6 separate regions of the Homo sapiens genome follow, and regions 2, 3, 4, 5 and 6 are each linked to region 1. Evidence: promoter capture Hi-C in human tissues and cell types (Jung and others, 2019). All regions are on one chromosome and are shown on one strand. The core of a region is centred on a gene start or on the middle of the fragment in contact, and the rest is flanking DNA. Distances in the headings are between cores, read along the strand shown. Region 1 holds the start of CHAC1 (ChaC glutathione specific gamma-glutamylcyclotransferase 1). Region 2 holds the start of NDUFAF1 (NADH:ubiquinone oxidoreductase complex assembly factor 1). Region 3 holds the start of OIP5 (Opa interacting protein 5). Region 4 overlaps RTF1 (RTF1 homolog, Paf1/RNA polymerase II complex component). Region 5 overlaps OIP5 (Opa interacting protein 5). Region 6 overlaps OIP5-AS1 (OIP5 antisense RNA 1).

Region 1 (3,513 bases), core at 384-2,883:
CTGGCCAAAATGGTGAAACCCCATCTCTACTAAAAATACAAAAATTAGCCAGGCATGGTGGCGTACGCCTGTAACCCAGCTACTCGGGAGGGTGAGGCAGTAGAATCGTTTGAACCCAGGAGGTGGAGGTTGCAGTGACTTCAGCCTGGGTGACAAGGGTAAGACTCCGTCTTAAAAAAAAAAAAAAAGGCATAGTTGAGGCCAGGTGCAGTAGCTCATGCCTGTAATCCCAGCATTTTGGGAGGCTGAGGGTGGGCAGATCACTTGAGATCAGGAGTTCCAGACCAGCCTGGCCAATATGGTGAAACTCCGTCTCTACTAAAAATACAAAAATTAGCTGAGTGTGGTAGCGCATGCCTGTAATCCCAGCTACTCGGGAGGCTGAGGTGGGAGAATCGCTTGAATCTGGAAGGCAGATGTTGCAGTGAGCCAAGATTGCATCACTGCACTCCAGCCTGGGCAACAGAGCAAGACTCTGTCTCAAAAACAAACAAACAAAACAACAACAACAACAACAAAAAAAAAAAACAGTTGACAAAGTGGTCTAGTACCAGGGAAGACAGGATTCCTCCTCAAAGTGTGGTCCAGGATGTGGTGGCATCACCTGTAAGCTAGTTAGGAATGCTGTGTCTCAGGACCCATTCTCATGCTACTGAACTAAAATCTGCATTCTAACAAGATCCTCATGTGATTTGGTGAGAAGCACTGAGCTAGAACACGTTTCTACTCTGCCAGAGAAGCATCAGACAGAGCTAGCCTGCAGCCAAGAGCCTATGAGCTCTCTCTGCTGGTCCCCCTTCACACTGGGCCAGGGTTCCCCTTCATGATTCGGGCACTTACCTCATGATCTTCAAGGAGCGTCACCACACGGCCAGGCTAGGGAGGGAAGAAATATTTTGAAATAGACAAGTTAGAAATCAGCTCTGCCATCAGCAAGGAAACCTTTATCAATCCCGCTGACCCGGGCCTCCAAGTGCCCCACTCTGCATGCTGAGTCCCATTCATGCAGGGGAAGGTGGGGGAGCGATGCACGGATGTAGGAGAAACGTCCAGAAACACTGACATGTCAGTGGTCCCAGTTGGTGATCAACACAGGGATCCACAGGTTCACAGACTCCAGCCATCACAGTGATGCACTGGGCACATACATTTAAATGAGCCACAAACCCCAGACACAGGTTTACACATTTCTTTCTATTGGCCCAGAGAGCCCCGGACATTCCAGGGCACTGGCGCCCAGTATCCCGCCCCCAACCCCCTCACTCCCCTGGGCACGGTTGGATGCTCACCATCTTGTCGCTGCCCCGATGGAAGGTGTCTCCCTGCCAGAAACGGCGGCTGTAGCCGCGCACGAAGCCCACACGGCTGTCGCTGTAGGCGAAGTCGGGCCTCCACACCAGGGAGCCGTACCCGAAAATCCACAGCGCTTGAGGGTCGCCGTCGTTTCGGGGGAACTGAGCGGACGGCGTAGGGGACTGCGAGGTGGGCGGGGTGTTCGGGGCTGCAGACTCCTGCTTCATGGTGCCTGGCACAGGGATAGGCCCAGGCGGCCTCCGGGGCTGGTCTCCGGCGTGGGCACGGAAAGACCGACGGACGCACACACCTGGCCTGGCACCGCTCGGTAGCTCCAGCTGAGCGCCCCCCATGGAGGCGCCCTTTAAACCTTCTTGCCGGGAGACCACGCCCACCGCGGCCAGCTGCCGCGGTGATTGGGGTGGGGCAAATCCCCTTTTGGCCAATCAACTTCGGATTCTGCTTCTCACTTAACCGCGCCGCGGGCCCAGCGCGCCCGCTGATTGGTTCAGCTCCACCTCTGTGGCAAACCTGGCAGGAGTGATGCAACGGCAGGGGAGGTTTCTCCAGCGCCGGCATGCAGCAAGGGCGCCTCGGATTGCGTCAGGCGGCGGGCAGGGGGCACCCGCCGGGCCCAGGGCGGGCACCGGGCGGGCGTCTCCCCAGCCGCCCCCTCATGACCTGGGCCCCTTGGAGGTACGGCGAGCGAGTCCCAGGCGGTGTCAGCCCAGCCTTGCCGCTAGTGCATCTGGCCGAGTCCCTGCCAGCCTAGGCGGCACAGACTCAGTCCCAAGTCGAGTCCAGGGCACGTCCAGAAGGAGCGCTCTGGGCGTCGTAAACTTCCGTCTCTGGGGCCCCTCCTGAGATCATGCACTGCGGGAAAGCTGTCGGAGGCACCGTCCGCATTCCGCTCAAGTGCCTCACGCCGTTGGCCATTGTGAGCAAATGGAGAAACTGGGCCACGGGGCTGCAGGGGGTTCTGCAGAGACTGCGGGGCTGAGTTAGGTAGGCCAGGCGCCCGGAGCTTGCAGGCCTCACATGGGCTACGCCCCGGACCAGGTGTGGGACCCCTCGAGCCCAGGTAGGCTCGGGGAAGAGCCTGTTAGAGCGCTTGGACCGACCGGCAGTCACTTTGGAGGTGGTGGCTGCACCTGCGGAGAAAGGCTATAAAGATGCAAAAGCCAGGCTAGTCTTGCCCCCAAGGCGATGGGTTTAATTCTTCCTGGACGTGAGATTTTGCAGCAATGATTAATCCATAGGCACAAGGTTCCGGGAGCAGCGGGCAAGGAGGGCCCAGTGAGGCCCCCACAAGACTATGGCCAGCTACTGGTCTTCTCCCTCGGCTTCTGGCCTCCCAGCCGAGTCCACAGGCCGCCGGGGGTTGACCCAATACGCAGCAAGGGACTGCCCTCAGGGGATGTCACTGACTGTAAAAGGGAAACAGAGGCAGCTGAAGGCCTTCTCTCTAAACTGGCCAGGAGATGGCTGGCAGGGGCAATGTGCAACATGGCTTCTCATTCGATTCTAATTCAATATTTAAACTAAACGTGATCTTCACACTTCACATATTCATTCCGAAGGTGTCGCAGATATAAGTGGGAAACTTGCACAACAGTGTGTATAGTACAAAGCTATTTCTTTAAAAACAAAAAGTATTCGTGTAATAAATAATCTGGAAGAATATACCTAAACAGTTAGCAGAGGCTGGCACCAGAGGAGGACTTTCAGTATCAAACTTAAACAGTAATGAAAAAGTCTGGATTTTTACAGGGAGCATGAATTACTTTTCCAATCAGGAAAAAAAAAAAATTACCAGCAAATGGTCCTTTCTGGTTATTCCTTTCTTTTTCGCTTTCTCTCCATTTCCCACATTCAGTCTCCCTCTTCTCTTCTATCCTGTCCCCTTTCGTTCATATGAGCACCTCCTTTGTTGGTAGCTTCTTAGAAGAATGTCCTCTTTTCCACTCACCAGCTGTGGGTTGTAGTCCGGGAAGTGGGAAACTGGTATCCACATATTGCTGAAGTATCTGAATTGGCACAAACAACCCTTTGAGAAAGCAGCTTGGTGATACAAGTCAAGAATCACAAAATATCCCTGCCCTTTGACCCAATACTCCTTCAGGAAATTATTCAAAATACGGGAAAAGCCATATGCCTGAAGATTTTCAATGCATTGTTACTTTTTTTTTTTTTTTTTTTTTTTTTTTTTTTTTTTGAGGT
Region 2 (3,509 bases), core at 36-2,535, 450 kb before region 1:
TACGGAACTATATGCTCTCAAATTCACACTAAGCACTAAATTCCCGCCGCTATGGTACATTCTGGGGAAAGGAAAAACAGCGCAGTCTGGACCCAAGAAAGCTCACAGCGTGGCAAAGGAAGTGAGAAGTGAGTGAAAGATACAATGTTGATTCTGTCTTCCCTGGCAGTAAGAAAAAAAAACAAAAACAAACAATGTTTAAGTGCTTTGGCCGGGCATGGTGGCTCACGCCTGTAATACCAGCACTTTGGGAGGCCGAGGTGGGTGGATCATGAGGTCAGGATTTCGAGACCAGCCTGGCCAACATGGCGAAACCCCATCTCTACTAAAAATACAAAAATTATCCGGGTGTGGTGGCACACACCTGTAATCCCAGCTACTTGGGAGGCTGAGGCAGGAGAATTGCTCCAACCCAGGAGTCGGAGGTTGCAGATCGCGCCACTGCACTACAGCCTGGGCAACAGAGTGAGACTCCGTCTCAAAAAAAAAAAGTGCTTTAAGAGAGGTGTGCACAAGGTACAAACAGATGCCCTGAGCAACTGGCGACCGTGTGGGGCGAGACTCGGGAAGGGCTGGTAGGAGGGGCTGCTGTCCAGGTGCGTGGTGGTCCTCAAGAATTCATGGGGGCAATTCCAGCAGAATCGGCCTTTTGAGGCCTCAGGCAGTTCTTGTGGGGACCGAGGCGACAGATAAGGAAGGAAGGGATACAGGCGCGTTAGCAATAACTGGGTTCTATTTGAAAGACGCAGGGGGCCGGGCTTGGTGGCTCGCGCCTGTAATCTCAGCACTTTGGGAGGCCGAGGCGGGTGGATCACGAGGTCAGGAGATCGAGATCATCCCGGCTAACATGGTGAAACCCCGTCTCTACTAAAAATACAAAAATTAGTCGGGCATGATGGCGCGCACCTGTAATCCCAGCTACTCGGGAGGCTGAGGCAGGAGAATCGCTTGAATCTGGGAGGCAGAGGTTGTAGTGAGCCGAGATCGCGCCACTGCACTCCAGCCTGGGCGACAGAGCGAGAATCCGTCTCAAAAAAAAAAAAAAAAAAAAAGACGCAGGGATGGAGTTTGCCGCCTGAAAGGATACAGGAAGGAGAGGCGAAAAACTTATCTGAATTCTCACTGCTTCCTTACAACTGGCGACCAAGTGGACCAAAAACCTCCAAAAACCTCAGTTGGCTGGGCTACGGGGTCCTTGCTGTCCTTCCTGGGCTTCTGTACTCGGCCGGAACTTTGGTGTTCTGACGCCTTGTTTGGCATCGGAAGGGAAAAGCAGATGGACCTATACGGGTAAAGTGGCTTCTGGGCGGAAGGTACACTATAGGCTCGGGGAGGTAAGCGGCGGCAGGCCGGCGGTTGGTGTGTCCCGGGTGTGGGGAGGCGACAGAGCCCTGGCACTTGAGGGTTGAGGGGGCCTCCCCAGCGCGGCGAACCGTCTAGCCTCCGGAGGCCAGGCCGTGAGTGCGGGAGGTATACGCCAAGGCGGAAGAATTTTGCCACTCACTACCTGTGTGACCTCGGGTAAATTAGCCTTGGAACGTCAGTTTCTTCGTCTCTATAATTGAAATAATAATAGTACCTCTCTCAGGATTGTTGTGAGCCGTCAGTGAAACACTTAGAGCAGTTTCTGGCACATGGTAAGGCATGGATAGCTTTACTAATTCTACTCACTTCTAGCTGCGTGGATTGTGTTGTCAAAACCCACCGTCAACCTCAGGGCGGTATTGTCCAGTTAATAGTTTAGATTTTCTGTTTACTGGTAGAAAAAAAAAAATGAAACAAAGCATTTATAATTAAAGTTATATTATTAGAGAAGTAACACTACGGAGGGTTTGGAAAACATTTTATGAGCTATCATTTGTTTCTCAAATTTCGGTATGTGTAGAGGTAAAATCATTTAAGTGCAACCGGCGCGGGGGAATTTAAATATTATCCATAATTCCGGGACCTCAGATCAACTGTTAATTTTTCCTGGTTCCCTTAACGTTTATAATACATGTGAAAACATACTGTTTACATGGTTTTGATTTATCAACAAACCTTATTGATAATGTCGGCTGGGCGCGGTGGCTCACGCCTGTAATCCCAGCACTTTGGGAGGCCGAGGCGGGCGGATCACTTGAGGTCAGGAGTTCGAGACCAGCCTGGCCAACATGGTGAAACCCTGTCTCTACTAAAAATACAAAAATTAGCTGGGCGTGGTGGCGCACGCCTGTAATCCCAGTGACTGAGGCAAGAGAATTGCTTGAAACCAGGAGGTGGAGGTTACAATGAGCCGAGATCGCACAACTGCACTCCAACTTGGGGGACAGAGCTGGACTCTGTCTTAAAAAAAAAAAAAAAAAAGTTGGGCATGGTGGCGGGCACCTGTAATTTCAGCCACTCGGGAGGCAGAGGCAGGAGAAGCACTTGAACCCGGGAGGCGGAGGTTGCAGTGAGCCAGGGTCGTGCCATTGCACTCCAGCCTGGGTGACAGAGCGAGACTCCATCTCAAAAAAAAAAAAAAAAAAAAAGGTTGGGCGCCGTGGCTGACGCCTGTAATCCCAGTACTTTAGGAGGCCCATGTAGGCGGATCACCTGAGGTCAGGAGTTCGAGACCACTCTGGCCAACATAGTGGAACCTCATCTCTACTGAAAAAACAAAAACAAAAACAAAAATTAGCCGGGCATGGTGGCGCCCGCCTGTAATCCCAGCTATTCAGGAGGCTGAGACAAGAGAATCGCTTGAACCCAGGAGGCGGAGATTGCAGTGAGCGGAGATCTCTAGCCTGGTGACAGAGCAAGACTCCGTCTCAAAAAAAAAAAAAAGTATTGATAATGTCATTTTACCTATTGGTGTCTGTATCCTACAGAAAGGAAATACGTATCTGACTTGTTTCATAGGATTTGTGTGTGGATGGCATGAGATAATATATATCAGGGTGATATGAAAGTGTTAGGAGTAGGCTGGGCATGGTGGCTCACACCTGTAATCACAGTACTTTGGGAGAACAAGGCAGGTGGATCACGTGGTCAGGAGATCGAGACCATCCTGGCTAACACGGTGAAACCCTGTCTCTATTAAAAATCCAAAAAAAAAAAAAAAAAAAAAATAGCTGGGCATGGTGGCGGGCGCCTGTAGTCCCAGCTACTCGCGAGGCTGAGGCAGGAGAATGGCGTGAACCCGGGAGGCGGAGCTTGCAGTGAGCCGAGATCGTGCCACTGCACTCCAGCCTGGGTGACAGAGTGAGACTCTGTCTCAAAAAAGAAAAAAAAAAGTATTAGGAGTGGTATTCATCAGGTGCAGTGGCTCACGCCTGTAATCCCAGGTACTCCAGAGGCTGAGGCAGGAGGATCACTTGAACCCAGGAGTTAGAGACTCGTCTGAGCAACATAACAAGACCTCATCTCTATTTTTTTTTTTTTTTTTTTGAGATGGAATTTTGCTCTTGTTGCCCAGGCTGGAGTGCAATGGCGTGATCTTGGCTCACCACAACCTCCACCTCCTGTTCAAGCTATTCTCCTGCCTT
Region 3 (3,588 bases), core at 588-3,087, 380 kb before region 1:
TTAAACAATTTAGGTCGGGTGGGGTGGCTCACGCCTGTAATCCCAGTACTTTGGGGGCTGAGGCGGGCGGATCAGGAAGTCAGGAGTTCGAGACCAGCCTGACCAACATGGTGAAACCCCATCTCTACTAAAAATACAAAAATTAGCCAGGCGTGGTGACACGCGCCTGTAATCCCAGCTACTCAGGAGGCTGAGGCAGGAGAATCGCTTGAACCCAGGAGGCGGAGGTTGCGGTGAGCCGAGATGGCGCCACTGCACTCCAGCCTGGGCGACAGAGCAAGACTCCGTCTCAAAGAAAAAACAAACAAACAAACAAATAAAAAAAAAATTGTGACGATTGATTTAAGCATTTACTCACTGTCAGTATCACAGCCTGCAGGAGAAACCTCCAGAGTATATAGCAGTATTATGTGGGAAGTCTCAACTATTAACAAAATATATAAAACCGCTATCCTACATTAAATCCCCAAATCTTCTTCTAACATCTTGGGTTTTTTGTTTGTTTTTGTTTTGTTTGAGACTGAGTCTCTCTCTGTCACCGAAGTTGGAGTGCAGTGGTGCGATCTTGGCTCACTGCCACCTCGGCTTCCCAGGTTCAAGCGATTCTTCTGCCTCAGCCTCCCAAGTAGCTGGGATCACAGGCAAAAAGCTTGGATCACAGGCGTGTGCCACCACGCCCGGCTAATTTTTTAAGGGCCAGGCTGGTCTCGAACTCCTGACCTCAGGTGATCCGCCTGCCTCGACCTCCCAAAGTGCTGGGATTACAGGCGTGAGCCACAGCGCCGGGCCAACTCTCCAAACATCTTGTAGCCTCGGAGTCAAAGACCTTACTGGTTTTGATAGAGACCATCAACCCAACAGTCATCAATAAAAATTTACCCAAGGAGGTGCTCCCCTAAAAGTCGATTTTTTTTTTCTGACAGGTCCATCAATAAAGTATCAAGAGATTATCGGCAATATTACAAATCACTGGAGTCTGTTTGGGGTTTTCCAGAAGCTGAGCCAATTATTTACTTAATTGTCTAACGATTAACGACACCCCTTGTGCTTTCTGGGCCTGAGTTTCGTAATCGACGCCCTGAGAGGTATACAGTAATTTCAAAACAAAACAAAACAAAAAACAATAAACCATCCCTCGGAATAGAGCTTATCATGTGAGCACCCAGACAAGCCAGCTTCAAAATGAGGTGAAAACTACAGTTCCTCTTCCGTTTATCAGAGTTCTAACTGGGACTACCGTGAACCACATCTACTGCCCGAGGGGCAGGGAGAGCTGCCTCAGTCCCGGGCTTCCCTCTCGGTCCCTTCGCACCGCATCTCCCCGAGGCCGCTATTCCCGCCGCGCCCGCCCAGGGACCCGCACCGCCAGCGCCGTACCCTCAGGTTGGCCCGGAGACCCAGACTCTTGGCTAAGTTCTGCAGGTCACTGTACTTGAGGGAGTCCAGCTCCTCTAGAGAGGGGATGATCATCGCGATTCGAAATCCCGGCGATACTCGGAAGATGGATCACCAAACTTCGTCAGCGCGGTTCAAATCCCTGGCGCCACTCTTAACTTTGACTAGGCAGAAATTTATAGACAGTTTAAATGAAGAATGCCGCGCTTCCATTGGTTGAAAATGCCTCAAAGGCGGGGTTTCTAACCCTGACCAATAGAAAGGCTGATTTCCCGTCCCAACAGAGGCGCGCTTTTTTCACACTTCACGAATACGCAGGCGCCAAAGGGCCTGTAACGCCTGTTCAGGTAACGAGTGCGCGGACTCGGACTCCAGTGCTTGGATTGCCCATGATGTCCAATGAGGACGCAGGAGCTGTGCTTGGGGCGGGGCCTGGCGTGTATTCGAAAGGAAGGCGCCGGCTGCGGGAAGATGGCGGCTCAGCCGCTGCGGCATCGCTCACGTTGTGCAACGCCGCCCCGGGGGGACTTTTGTGGTGGCACTGAGAGGGCGATTGACCAAGCTTCTTTTACGACCTCCATGGAGTGGGATACGCAGGTGGTGAAGGGGTCCTCGCCGCTCGGCCCCGCAGGGCTGGGGGCTGAGGAGCCAGCCGCCGGCCCGCAGCTGCCGTCTTGGCTGCAGCCTGAGAGGTGCGCTGTGTTCCAGTGCGCACAGTGTCACGCAGTGCTCGCCGACTCGGTGCACCTCGCCTGGGACCTGTCGCGGTCCCTCGGGGCCGTGGTCTTCTCCAGTGAGTGCAGTGAAGCGTTCGGGAAAGGCAGAGGCTAGCCCGAGAGGGTGTTCCCGCTTTCTCCACCGGGTGGCGGAGAACCACCTGGGGAAGAAAACGGGATGAAAAGTTGGAAGCAAATAACTCCTTGGCCTGGGGATGGGGCAGGGAATCGGGGAGTCTCCTGATATTTACGGCCAGGATGAGTCTGTCTAGAGGAGAGATTTTCCATTTCAAGGCCCGCAGAGTATGGGTTCTGACCCGTGTTTGTCTTCCTAGGAGTTACAAATAACGTCGTTTTGGAAGCGCCCTTCCTAGTTGGCATTGAAGGTTCACTCAAAGGCAGGTACGTATTGATAATTACATTGGTCTCTAGTCCCTGACTTTATGAGACTGAGGATCGTGGAACTGACATGTACGAGGAGAAAACAGTTTGGGATGCTGCTTTTACCTGTTTGACTCTTATATGAACTTGATGTATTAATGAAATGAAAAAGTTGTATTTGTGTATTGGTTTTAGGATCTTCCTGAGGGCCACTTCTCCCAGGTGGCTTGTACAAGTGAAGTGAGGCTAAGAAAGATGTATCTAGTAGTGGACAAAAGAAAAAAATAACCTTTTGGTTTACAGTGAGAATAACATACTATAAACTACAATCCTTTTAGATATTAGAACTTTTTGATACAGGGTCTTGCTCTCGCCCAGGCTGGAGTGCACTGGTGCGCTCATAGCTCACTACAGCCCCTACCTTCCTGGCTCAAGCTATCCTCCCAACCTCACCCTCCGGAGTAGCTGGGACTACAGGCACACAGCACCACTCCCGGCTAATTTTTAAATTTTTTGTAGAGGCCTTAGTATGTTGCCCACGCTTGATATTAGAACTTTTAAGTTTGCGATTATGGTTAGTTTGTAATAAGCTATGCCAGGGCTAATTCTTCAGTAACCCCAGAAACTGGAGAAAAACACAACTAGAATGTTATGTACTTGAATACTGCCTGGTAAACTTTGCGACCTGCCTGTACTATGATTTACAAGTGACAATAAAGTAGTCAGTGAATTTGGTATTGCAAGGCTCCTCAATTTTGAGTTTTGGCTTTAACATTGAGACAATTCATTTCATTCTGACCAGTTTGATTCAACGTTACGGTTAAAATATAGGAATTCTTAGTTGCTTTGTCCAGTAACCAGGAAGATTTCTGCAGCTTGGACAAACTTCAAAAACGGAGTTAGACCCACAGCTCCCTTTCTTTTTCCTGAATAAAAGACACTCCCTATCGCTATAGGAGTCCCCTTCCCACCCAAAGGGGACAAAGCAAGAAGGAGCAATTGCCTGCTTGGAATTGGGTGTATTCTGGGGCCAGAGGCAGAAGGTTCCTGAATGTGCTCTTGGAGAGGAGGCTAATGAATCTAGACCCGTGCTGTC
Region 4 (3,350 bases), core at 746-3,245, 480 kb before region 1:
ATCCCATCATCTACACTCTACAGTTCCATCATCCCTCAATTCTCTCATCTTTATACATCCCTTCTCCCATTCCCTGGCAACCAGAGACCTGTTTTCTGTCCCTATAGAACATCATATAGATGGAATCATATAGTATCTTAGCCTTTTGAGTTTGGCTTCTTTCATTCAGCACAGTGCATTTGAGATTCATTCACATTACAGCATGTATCATTACTATAGTTTGTCTCTATTTTTGCTAAGTAGTATTCCACTGTATGAATGTATCAGTTTGTTGAACCATTTACCAGCTGAAAAACATTTGTGCTAGGTGCAGTGGTTCACGCCTATAATCCCAGCACTTTGGGAAGCCAAGGTGGGAGGACCGCTTGAGCCCAAAAGTTTGAGACCAGCTTGGCAACATAGCATGACCTCATCTTTACTTAAAAAAAAAAAAAAAAAAGGCCAGGCGTGGTGGCTCACGCCTGTAATTCCAGCACTTTGGGGAGGCCAAGGTGGCGGATCACCTGAGGTTGGGAGTTCGAGACCAGCCTGACCAACATGGAGAAACCGCATCTCTACTAAAAATAAAAAATTAGCTGTGCGTGGTGGTGCATGCCTGTAATCCTAGCTACTCGGGAGGCTGAGGCAGAAGAATTGCTTGAACCTGGGAGGCAGAGGTTGCAGTGAACTGAAATAGCACCATTGCACTCCAGCCTGGGCAAAAAGAGCAAAACTCCATCAAAAAAAAAAAAAAAAAAAAAGTGTGGTAGCAAACAACAACAATAAAACATCTGAGTTGTTACCATTTGGGGGTAATTGTATGTTCATGTATAGTCTTCTATGTAAACATTAGTTTTTACTTCACTTTGAGTAAATACCTAGGACTGGGATTGCTGGGTTATATAGTAATACGTTTATGGTCTTTACCATTACCTTTTTTCCCATATTACTTTAATGTAAATTTATAAGCTTTAAAGACTTCTGGGCTGGGTGCAGTGGCTCACGTTTGTAATACCACTACTTTGGGAGGCTGAGGCAGGTATATCACTTGAGGTGTGCCTGGCCAACATGGTGAAACCTGATCTTTGCTAAAAATACAAAAATCAGCTGGGCATGGTGGCGCACGCCTGTAGTCCTAGCTGCTCAGGAGGCTGAGGTGGGAGAATCACTTGAGTCTGGGAGGTGGGGGTTGCGGTGAGCAAAGATCATGCCAGTGCACTCCAGCCTGGGCAACAGAGTGAGACTCTGTCTCAAAAAGGCAAAAAAGACTTCTGGTAAGTAATCTCTTCTCTGACCCCTTCAGTTTCACAAATGCATTATTATGCCAGTTTTATATTTTTATTTATTTATTTTTTTTGAGATGGACTCTCACTATGTCTCCCAGGCTGGAGTATAGTGGAGTGATCTCGGCTCACAGCAACCTCCGCCTCCCTGGTTCAAGTGATTCTCCTGCCTCAGCCTCCCAAGTAGCTGGGACTATAGGTGCACGCCACCACACCCAGCTAATAGTTTTGTATTTTTAGTAGAGACAGGTTTTCACCATGTTGGCCAGGATGGTCTCGAACTCCTGATGATCTGCCCACCTCAGCCTCCCAAAGTGTTGGGATTACAGGTGTGAGCCACCGCAGCCGACCTCAGTATGCCTGTTTGTTTTTCTTTTTTTTGTGAGACGGAGTTTCACTCTTGTTGCCCAAGCTGGAGTGCAATGGTGCGATCCCGGCTCACTACAACCTCGGCCTCCTGGTTCAAGCAATTCTCCTGCCTCAGCCTCCCAAGTAGCTGGGATTACAGGTGTGCACCACAACACCTGGCTAATTTTTTGTATTTTTAGTAGAAGTAGGGTTTCACCACATTAGCCAGGCTGGTCTTGAACTCCTGATCTCAGGTGAGCCGCCGCCTTGGCCTCCCAAAGTGCTGGGATTACAGGTGTGAGCCACCATGCCCAGCCTAGTATGCCTGTTTTAATACCAATTCGTTATAAGAGAAATTTGGATTTGCTATCAATCAAACCATAGTAGACATCTGTTAAAAGTTACTGTAACTGAAGTGTTAAGACATTAGTACTGCCTTCCTGTTAAGGAGGTTCCGCTCTACATACTGAAAACCTAGGCCGGGCGCAGTGGCTCACGCCTGTAATCCCAGCACTTTGGGAGGCTGAGGTGGGTGGATCACGAGGTCAGGAGATCAAGACCAACCTGGCTAACACAGTGAAACCCTGTCTCTACTAAAAATACAAAAAATTAGCCAGGCGTGGTGGCGAGCGCCTGTAGTCCCAGGTACTCCGGAGGCTGAGGTGGGAGAATGGCGTGAACCCGGGAGGCGGAACTTGCAGTGGGCCGAGATTGTGCCACTGCACTCCATCCAGACTGAGTGACAGAGCAAGACTCCATCTCAAAAAAAAAAAAAAAGAAAACCTAACAAACAGCTCTCCTTCATCAACAAACAACTGCATCTGATAAGTACAATCCCTCTTCTACTACATTAAATACCATATTAACAATAGTATGGCCAGGCACAGTGGCTCATGCCTGTAATCCCAGCATTTTGGAAGGCCGAGGTGGGCGGATCACAAGGTCAGGAGTTCAACACCATCCTGGCCAGCATGGTGAAACCACGTCTCTACTAAAAATACAAAAAATTAGCCAGGCATGGGGGCGTGCACCTGTAGTCTAGCTACTCGGGAGGCTGAGGCAGGAGAATCACTTCAACCTGGCAGGTGAAGGTTGCAGTGGGCCAAGATCGTGCCACTGCACTCTGGCCTGAGCAACAGAGGGAGACTGCGTCTCAAAAAAAAAAAAAAAGTATGAGCCAGGGACACTGGCTCACAACTGTAGTCCTAGCACTTTGGGAAGCCGACGAGGGCTGATCGTTTGAGCCCAGGAATTCGAGACCAGTCTGGGCAATGTGGTGAAACCCCGTCTGTACAAAAAATCCAAAAACTCAGCCAGGTGTGGTGGCACATGCCTATAGTCTCAGCTACTCAAGAGGCTGAGGCAGAATTGTTTTGAGTCTGGGTGGTTGAGAGTGCAGTGAACCACTTCACTCCAGCCTGGGAAATAGAGCAAGACACTGCCTTAAAAAGAAAAACCCAGTCGGGCGCGGTGGTTCACGCCTGTAATCCCAGCACTTTGGGAGGCCGAGGCAGGTGGATCACGAGGTCAGCAGTTCGAGACCAGTCTGACCAACATGGTGAAACCCTGTCTCCACTAAAAATACAAAAAAAGTAGCTGGGCGTGGTGGCAGGCGCCTGTAATCCCAGCTACTTGGGAGGCTGAGGCAGAAGAATTGCTTGAAACCAGAAGGCAGAGGTTGCAGTGAGCCGAGATTGCACCACTGCACTCTAGCCTGGGCAACAAGAGCAAAACTCCTTC
Region 5 (3,549 bases), core at 597-3,096, 350 kb before region 1:
GGCTGAAGTGGGAGGATCACTTGAGAGCAGGAGCTTGAGGCTGCAGTGAACTATGAATGTGCCACTGTACTCCAGCTCAGGCAACAGAGTGAGACCCTGTCTCTTAAAATAAGTAAAAATAAAAAAAGATGCCCTGATATCTATATATTTCTCTTCCTAGCTGAAAGAGAAGATAGTGCTAACGCACAATCGCTTAAAATCACTAATGAAGATTCTGAGTGAAGTGACTCCTGACCAGTCCAAGCCAGAAAACTGATCCTGTACCAAAGCTTGAGTGTCAGGTTCAGGCTTTATTGCTGTCTTCAACAACAGGTGCTGCTTAGTCATTTCTTGAAAAAGATTGGCTTCAAGAATGGAGGGGAAATGCAGTTTCTATTTACCTTTAGGCTGATTTTCCAAATTATTTGTGAAGCTGTTTTTAGAAGATGAGAGACTAAGGATTCTTCTCTTTTATAGCTATTTGCCTTAAGAACTTACTTTAGATTCTTATTGAATTCATAATACTTATCTCTGAAAATGTCTTTGACTGTAAATTTAGGAATTAAGATGCAGAGTCCCATGTGTCCTCTGATCTAAAGTTGCATGGTTGGTCTGAAAATAGAGTTGGGCTTAATGTTGACTTCTATTACTCCTGCATGGAGCAGTTGTTATGAATACTAATACATCACTTTTTAACTTCTGTAAAATACAGATCATAATATTCTATAGGTAATGTTTAATAAATTGCCTGAATAATATACAATTTGTCTTTTTCAGTTGTAAACTGAGGTTAACAGAGAAATAATGAAAGCAATGATAAAACGAAACAGTTACCAAAGTACTATTTTCTATAATTTTGTTTTATGTAGCACTTTGAGTAACTTATCAAAATATTAATTTAATATATATTTGTAAAGTGTTAGACTAGGTGCTGGGGATAAAAGGTAAGCAAAAATAGACACACTATCCTTAGAATTTATAATCTAGTCAGAGAGGGACATTCAAATAATCACATAAAGATACATAAAATTACAGGCCTGGCGCAGTGGCTCACATCTATAATTCCAGATTTTCGGAGGCCGAGGCAGTGGATCACTTGAGGTCAGGAGTTCAAGACCAGCCTCGCCAACGTGGTGAAACCTCGTCTCTACTAAAAATACAAAAATTAGCCAGGCATGGTGGTGCGCACCTGTAATCCCAGCTACTCAGGAACCTGAGGCAGAAGAATTGCTTGAACCCAGCAGGTAGAGGCTGCAGTCAGCCGAGATCGTGCCACTGCACTCCAGCCTGGGCGACAGAGTGAAACTCCATCTAAAAAAAAAAAAAGATATGTAAAATTATGACGCTAGTAAGGGTTTTGAAGTAAAGGAACATAGGGATACACGCACATAAAGCAGGTAACTGACCTGGTCTGGGTTTCTGGGAAAGAAAGCCTCTGTGTAGAAGTGAAGTTTCAGCGGTGGTCTGAAAGACGAATAGGAATTAATAAGGTGATGGAGGGATGACCTTTATGAGGTCCTTAAAAGAAGGCCTGCCTAATCAAATTTACTTTTTCAGAATGTCACTGTGGTTGTCCTGTGGAAAACAGGTGGGAAGGACAGCAAGCAGACCACTAAGGAGAGCCTTTGGCACTAGCACAATCAAGAAATTACATATCCAAGTGGTGGAGGATAGAAAAGCTAACTTGGCTGGGATGTAGCTAGCAGAATATATATATATAAATTTTTTTTTTTTCTTCCCGAGATGGAGTCTTGCTCTGTCGCCCAGGCTGGCGTGCAGTGGCCTGATCTCTGCAACTGCCATCTCCCGAGTGTTGAAGCGATTCTCCTGTCTCAGCCTCCTGAGTAGCTGGGATTACAGGTGCATGCCGCCACGCCCGGCTAATTTTTTGTATTTTAGTAGAGACGGGGTTTCACCGTGTTGCCCAGGGTGGTCTCGAACTCCTGAGCTCAGGCAAATCCACCCACCTTGGCCTCCCAAACTGCTAGGATAACAGGCGTGAGCCACTGCGACTGGCCTGCTTATGCTTTTTTTGAGGGGAGGGTGGTGAGACAGGGTCTCACTCTGTCACCCAGGCCTGAGTGCAGAGGTGTGAACATGGCCCACTGCAGCCTTGACTTCCTGGTCTCAAGTGATCCTCCCAACTGTATCCTGAATAGCTGGCACCACAGGTTTGTGTCACCACGCCTGGCTAATTAAAAAAAAAAAAAAAATTGTAGAGACAAGGCCTCACTGTGGGCTCAAACTGGGCTCAAGGGATCCTCACTTCAGCCTTCTGAAGTGTTGGAATTACAGCGGTGAGCCATTGTGCCAGGTCTGATTATGCGTAGAGTTGCAAAAATTTGGTCCTATAAGCAAGGTTGATGCTTTCTGGCAAAAACCAGCCCAATAAAAGCTTTTACTTTTTAAAGAATAAGACCTAATATAGGCCAGGTGCAGTGGCTCACGCCTGTAATCCCAGCACTTTGGGAGGCCAAGGCGGTCAGATCACGAGGTCAGGAGTTCCAGACCAGCCTGCCCAACATAGTGAAACCCTGTCTCTACTAAAAATACAAAAATTAGCTGAGCATGTGGCGTGTGTCTGTAGTCCCACTACTCGGGAGGCTGAGGCAGGAGAATCGCTTGAACCTGGGAGGCAGAGGTTGTGGGGAGCCAAGATCATGCCACTGCATGCCAGCCTGGGTGACAGAGTGAGACGCCGTCTCAAAAAAAAAAAAAAAAGACCTAATAAGTACCACATTGAGTCACCCCTGGTTGCTCTGGGCGACAGAGCAAGACTCCGTCTCTAAATAAATAAATAAATAAAATTAAATGCTTGACCTTTACGTCAAATTAAACTGGCTAGCTTTAAATAGATTTTTTTCAGATTACATGCTCACTCTAGAAAAAAGAGATGTGTGACAAAATACAGAGTGAAAGTATACTTCTTCCCTTTCTATTTTTTGAGAAGCACAATATAGCATCCTGGTAAGTGAGCAGGCTCTGGAACCAAACTGGATTGAAACTGTGGCTTGGGTACTTACTAGCCATGAACTGGAACAATTTATCTGTTTTAATTTCCTTCTATGTAAAATAGGGATAAAAACTATAGTAATTAGAGCTGTAGTGAGCATTAAATGAGTTAATTAATGCATCTAATGTAATTAGAGCAGTGCTTATCACATAGTTGGTGCTCAATGAATACTATTATTAAACTCCATGTATGTGGATACACAGAGACACAAAATAAAGGCAATTACAAATATGTTAGAAAAAGTATTCCAAAACTCCTTATGGCTGTAAAAGCAGCATTACATATTGAGGTTTGAATGGCTGCCTGTTCCATTGTACAACACACTGGAAACTGCTACAGCTAGGTCTCAAGTAACCTGGTCCTTTGTTCTTTAACATCTGAAGAGTACTTTGGCACAGGTCTTTGGAAAGGCTCCTTCTCCCATCATCAGTATGTACTGCATTATTTAAAATTACCCATTTCAAGTAACGACACACAATGAGATTTCAGTGCATTCTCAGCCCATGCTGCTTTATTGCTAAAATATATATATACACAGGTGCAGAGCTTCCAACTTT
Region 6 (3,428 bases), core at 856-3,355, 330 kb before region 1:
TCAAGCAATTCTCCTGCCTCAGTCTCCCAAGTAGCTGGGATTACAGGCGCGTGCCACCACACCTGCTTAATTTTTGTATTTTTTGTAGAGATAGGGTTCCCCCATGTTGCCCAGGCTGGTCTCAAACTCCTGACCTCAAGTATCTGCCCACCTCGGCCTCCCAAACTGCTGGGATTACAGGCGTGAGCCACCGGGCCAGGCCTATTTTTTAATCATTTGATTTCCTTCAATCTAATTAAATATGTGTCTGTTTTCTTTAGACAGTGAAAATTATTGGTAGTTTGAGCAAATGATCAAGATTACTCCTTTTTATTTAATACATTTCTTTTGTTGAAAAATAAAAGATTTAACTTAAATTTCAATAGCTTACAGTCATTTTTCATGTTCGTCTTCTGCTGAAGCTAACGGCTTATTGTTCCACTTCTATGTACCTGTTTTCAAGCTACTTAAACAGTATTTGGAACGATTAGCCCACAATTACTTACTTGCCAAGTCCTGAGTTCAGAATTTTGTTTTTGAGATGAATATAAAAGCACCTAAAGGTCAAGGAAAATTTTCTTCCTGTGATAAGGAACCTAAAAAGAAAAAGAACATTAAGGATATGGCCCTCACTGGTGCTAGTAATTTTAGTATACAATATTACTCAAACAGACAAGCTATTGTTAAAAAAAAATCAATATCATAAACTATTCAAAAGGAACAGTAAGAAAGCAGTTACTCTCTACCTGCACTGGCATTAATTTTAAAAAGATGTCAAGTCTTGGAGCAGTGGTTCTCAAGCTTTTATGAAACAGTGTCCTCTTTGAGAATCTGATACTATGGACCTTCTTCTTCCCACAAAAATGTATAATTGTGCATAAAATTTCCAGTAGTTTATGGACCCCTACTTAAGACCTTTGTGTCAGGCCTCTGAGCCCAAGCCTGCACGTATATATCCAGATGGTCTGAAGCAACAGAAGAATCACAAAAGAAGTGAAAATGGCCAGTTCCTGCCTTGACTGATGACATTACCTTGTGAAATTCCATCTCCTGGCTCAGAAGCACCCCCACTGAGCACCTTGTGACCCCCACCCCTGCCCGCAAGAACACAACCCCCTTTGACTGTAATTTTCCACTACCTACCCAAATCCTATAAAACTGCCCACCCCTAACTCCCTTTGCTGACTCCTTTTTGGACTCAGCCCGCCTGCACCCAGGTGAAATAAATAGCTTTATTACTCACACAAAGCCTGTTTGGTGGTCTCTTCGCACGGACGCGCCTAACACTTTGCTTTAGTGTAGATGACCACTCCCCTCTATAAGGTAGGGAGGAAGAATGTTCGGTTAGTTCCTCTCCTCTGGCCGATATTTTTTTTCTTCTCCTGGATGAGACAAAGACAAAAAAACAAAAAATAAACTGACAGAGCGACAAAAAAGGTCTCATATAAAAGTCCTTCTGTATTATTTTTCAGCTCTAGCAAATCCAGGGCCAACAAAGAGCATACCCAAAAACATTCATTTGTCTAATGGTGTGTCCGTTGGAACTTAACTAATGTGCCAGTTTTAAACAGGCCACACCAATTCAGAAACCTAGTAACAGGAACTTTCCTAGAATCTTACCTGAGAGACCGGATGAGGGTAAGGTTACAACAATCCAAATTACCAAAAGAGACAACCCGTTCGGTTAAAGGAGAACAGAATACCAAATGCCTCAGTGTTGACACTGTGCAACCCCACCACTTTACACAAACTACGTTCTAATAACATTTCCCTATCATTCTGTCTCTATAAAAACAATATTGTACACTGAACTCCTGTACTTCTGGGTCGGAAACCAAAAACGGTGAATTCTATCAAGACCCTGGCATCAGCCAAAATTAATGCGCCATTAGAACGTTATCAGGACATCAGTGCCAGAACCGCTTACTCAGATCATAAAAGTTTGGGAGGTGGGAGTGGGAGCGGACGGCTTTAGTAAAAGTTGCACCAGGGTGTCCGCGATAAACACACCCGAATGCAATTCCCAAGGGAAACCTGTTACAAGTCTCAAGGTCAACGGGCTGGGGACACAAAATACTCAGAGCCACAACAGGCCTCAACTGATACCGCTGACGGGCAAAGAGGGGGAACGAAGTCCTAAGGCGAGGGGTATAAGTAAATCAATAAAACAAAGATATTCTTCGAAAAATAAATCGATGGCAGAAGCAGCGGCTGCCAGATACAGCCCCGTGTGGGTGCAAGCAGAAAGCACAAAGGTGGCTAAAGGCACGGCACTGGGAAGGACCGAGACGGGCTGAGGGGTGGGCCGTGCAACACACCCAGAAGGCGGGTGACGGCTGCCCTGGAGCCGCCGAGGTTGGAACCCCCGCCCAGCCGAGGCCGAGGCCGGCTGCCCGCAACTCGCAGGTTCCTGCGCGCTTCCGTACCCGGCCCGTCTGGGCCACGCCACCTCCTCGGCGCCTGCTCGTCCCACCGTCACTGGCCTTCTCGGCTCACCTCGCACGGTCCAACAGATGCACTCGGCCTCCCGGGGGCTGCTCGCCCCCGGCCCAGAGGCCAGTTTGCAGCGGCACGCCTTACTCCGCCATCTTCGCAGCTTCTCAAGGTGGCCAACCCTGCGGTGGGCCGTTCCCACAAGCCCCGCCCCCGCCGCTGGGGCTGAGTGTTTATTGGGCATCGTCTTGCTCGCGCGCGCTCTCCTTGCGTCGTAGGTTGGTTGGAATGCACGTCAATCAATAGCACTCGCCCCACTCTTTCGATCCGGATTGGGTCCCAGAATTGAGGTAACAGGGAGAAATGCTTTTGTAATTCAATTATTAAGAATGTAAAATTTCCGCCGTAGAAGCTGTACCACGTGGTAAGATAGTGTGGCTAGGCCGCGTGACTATTTTAAGCCACTGTTAGGTTAAACTGTAGTACTAATAATTTCATTCTCAGGCCCGAGGGTTTTTGTTTTGTTTTGTTTTTTGAGACAGAGTCTCTCACTGTCGCCCAAGCTGGAGTGCAGTGGCGCGATCTTGACTCACTGCAACCTCCGCCTCCCGGGTTTAAACGATTCTCCTGCCTCAGCCCCTCAAGTAGCTGGGACTACAGGCGCATGCCACCACACCCAGCTAATTTTTGTATTTTTAGTAGAGACGAGATTTCACTACGTTGGCCAGACTGGTGTCGAACTCCTGACCTCAGGTGATCCACCCGCCTCGGTCTCCCGAAGTGCTGGGATTACAGGCATGAGCCACCGCGCCCAGGCTTTTAATCCAGGGGTAGCACAACACCTAGGGAAAAAATTTAATGCTTCCAGTTTGTCTCTGTCTTTGACTCTTAAAGGGCCCAAACGTTGTCCGGCTGTTTACAGCTTTGGTCAATACAGGAGAGAAGGATTCGTCACTTTTCTGAAGGCCCTCCTGCATAGAGGAAACCTGCTGTAACTGGCAGTTTTGTTGTTTGCT

What was found. Contacts are between HindIII fragments. The study calls those that stand out against the background at their distance.
Region 2: a contact is called between the fragment with the promoter of NDUFAF1 here and the fragment with the promoter of CHAC1 in region 1, in 1 of the 25 tissues and cell types used here (liver).
Region 3: the fragment with the promoter of OIP5 here is called in contact with the fragment with the promoter of CHAC1 in region 1 in 1 of the 25 tissues and cell types used here (spleen).
Region 4: a fragment that was not itself captured here is called in contact with the fragment with the promoter of CHAC1 in region 1 in 1 of the 25 tissues and cell types used here (spleen).
Region 5: a fragment that was not itself captured here is called in contact with the fragment with the promoter of CHAC1 in region 1 in 2 of the 25 tissues and cell types used here (dorsolateral prefrontal cortex and spleen).
Region 6: a fragment that was not itself captured here is called in contact with the fragment with the promoter of CHAC1 in region 1 in 1 of the 25 tissues and cell types used here (mesendoderm cells).

The regions. Positions count from the first base shown.
Region 1 is chr15:40,951,591-40,955,103 of GRCh38, reverse strand. It overlaps CHAC1 (ChaC glutathione specific gamma-glutamylcyclotransferase 1), which reads right to left and starts at 1,633. Exons shown (of 3, transcript NM_024111.6): 1 at 1,290-1,633; 2 at 841-876. The coding sequence starts at 1,520. RefSeq lists a silencer at 1,900-2,159 and an enhancer at 1,831-2,424. The HindIII fragment of the contact is 19,989 bases long and covers 1-3,513 here.
Region 2 is chr15:41,400,272-41,403,780 of GRCh38, reverse strand. NDUFAF1 (NADH:ubiquinone oxidoreductase complex assembly factor 1) reads left to right here and starts at 1,285. Exons shown (of 5, transcript NM_016013.4): 1 at 1,285-1,637. The HindIII fragment of the contact is 27,298 bases long and covers 1-3,509 here.
Region 3 is chr15:41,330,840-41,334,427 of GRCh38, reverse strand. OIP5 (Opa interacting protein 5) reads left to right here and starts at 1,837. Exons shown (of 5, transcript NM_007280.2): 1 at 1,837-2,188; 2 at 2,447-2,513. The coding sequence starts at 1,867. NUSAP1 (nucleolar and spindle associated protein 1) reads right to left here and starts at 1,547. Exons shown (of 11, transcript NM_016359.5): 1 at 1,378-1,547. The coding sequence starts at 1,470. RefSeq lists an enhancer at 1,824-2,083. The HindIII fragment of the contact is 6,722 bases long and covers 1-3,588 here.
Region 4 is chr15:41,431,234-41,434,583 of GRCh38, reverse strand. The region is part of intron 1 of RTF1 (RTF1 homolog, Paf1/RNA polymerase II complex component); the gene reads right to left. Among named protein-coding and RNA genes, the nearest start is that of RTF1, 16 kb to the right of the region's middle. RefSeq lists an enhancer at 2,309-2,809. The HindIII fragment of the contact is 6,359 bases long and covers 1-3,350 here.
Region 5 is chr15:41,306,461-41,310,009 of GRCh38, reverse strand. OIP5 (Opa interacting protein 5) reads left to right here. Exons shown (of 5, transcript NM_007280.2): 5 at 161-737. The coding sequence ends at 256. OIP5-AS1 (OIP5 antisense RNA 1) reads right to left here. Exons shown (of 5, transcript NR_152821.1): 3 at 1,386-1,443; 4 at 1,169-1,290. Among named protein-coding and RNA genes, the nearest start is that of OIP5, 24 kb to the left of the region's middle. The HindIII fragment of the contact is 3,593 bases long and covers 50-3,549 here.
Region 6 is chr15:41,283,158-41,286,585 of GRCh38, reverse strand. OIP5-AS1 (OIP5 antisense RNA 1) reads right to left here. Exons shown (of 5, transcript NR_152821.1): 2 at 486-575. Among named protein-coding and RNA genes, the nearest start is that of OIP5-AS1, 2.2 kb to the right of the region's middle. RefSeq lists enhancers at 736-1,475, 2,960-3,428. The HindIII fragment of the contact is 7,739 bases long and covers 1-3,428 here.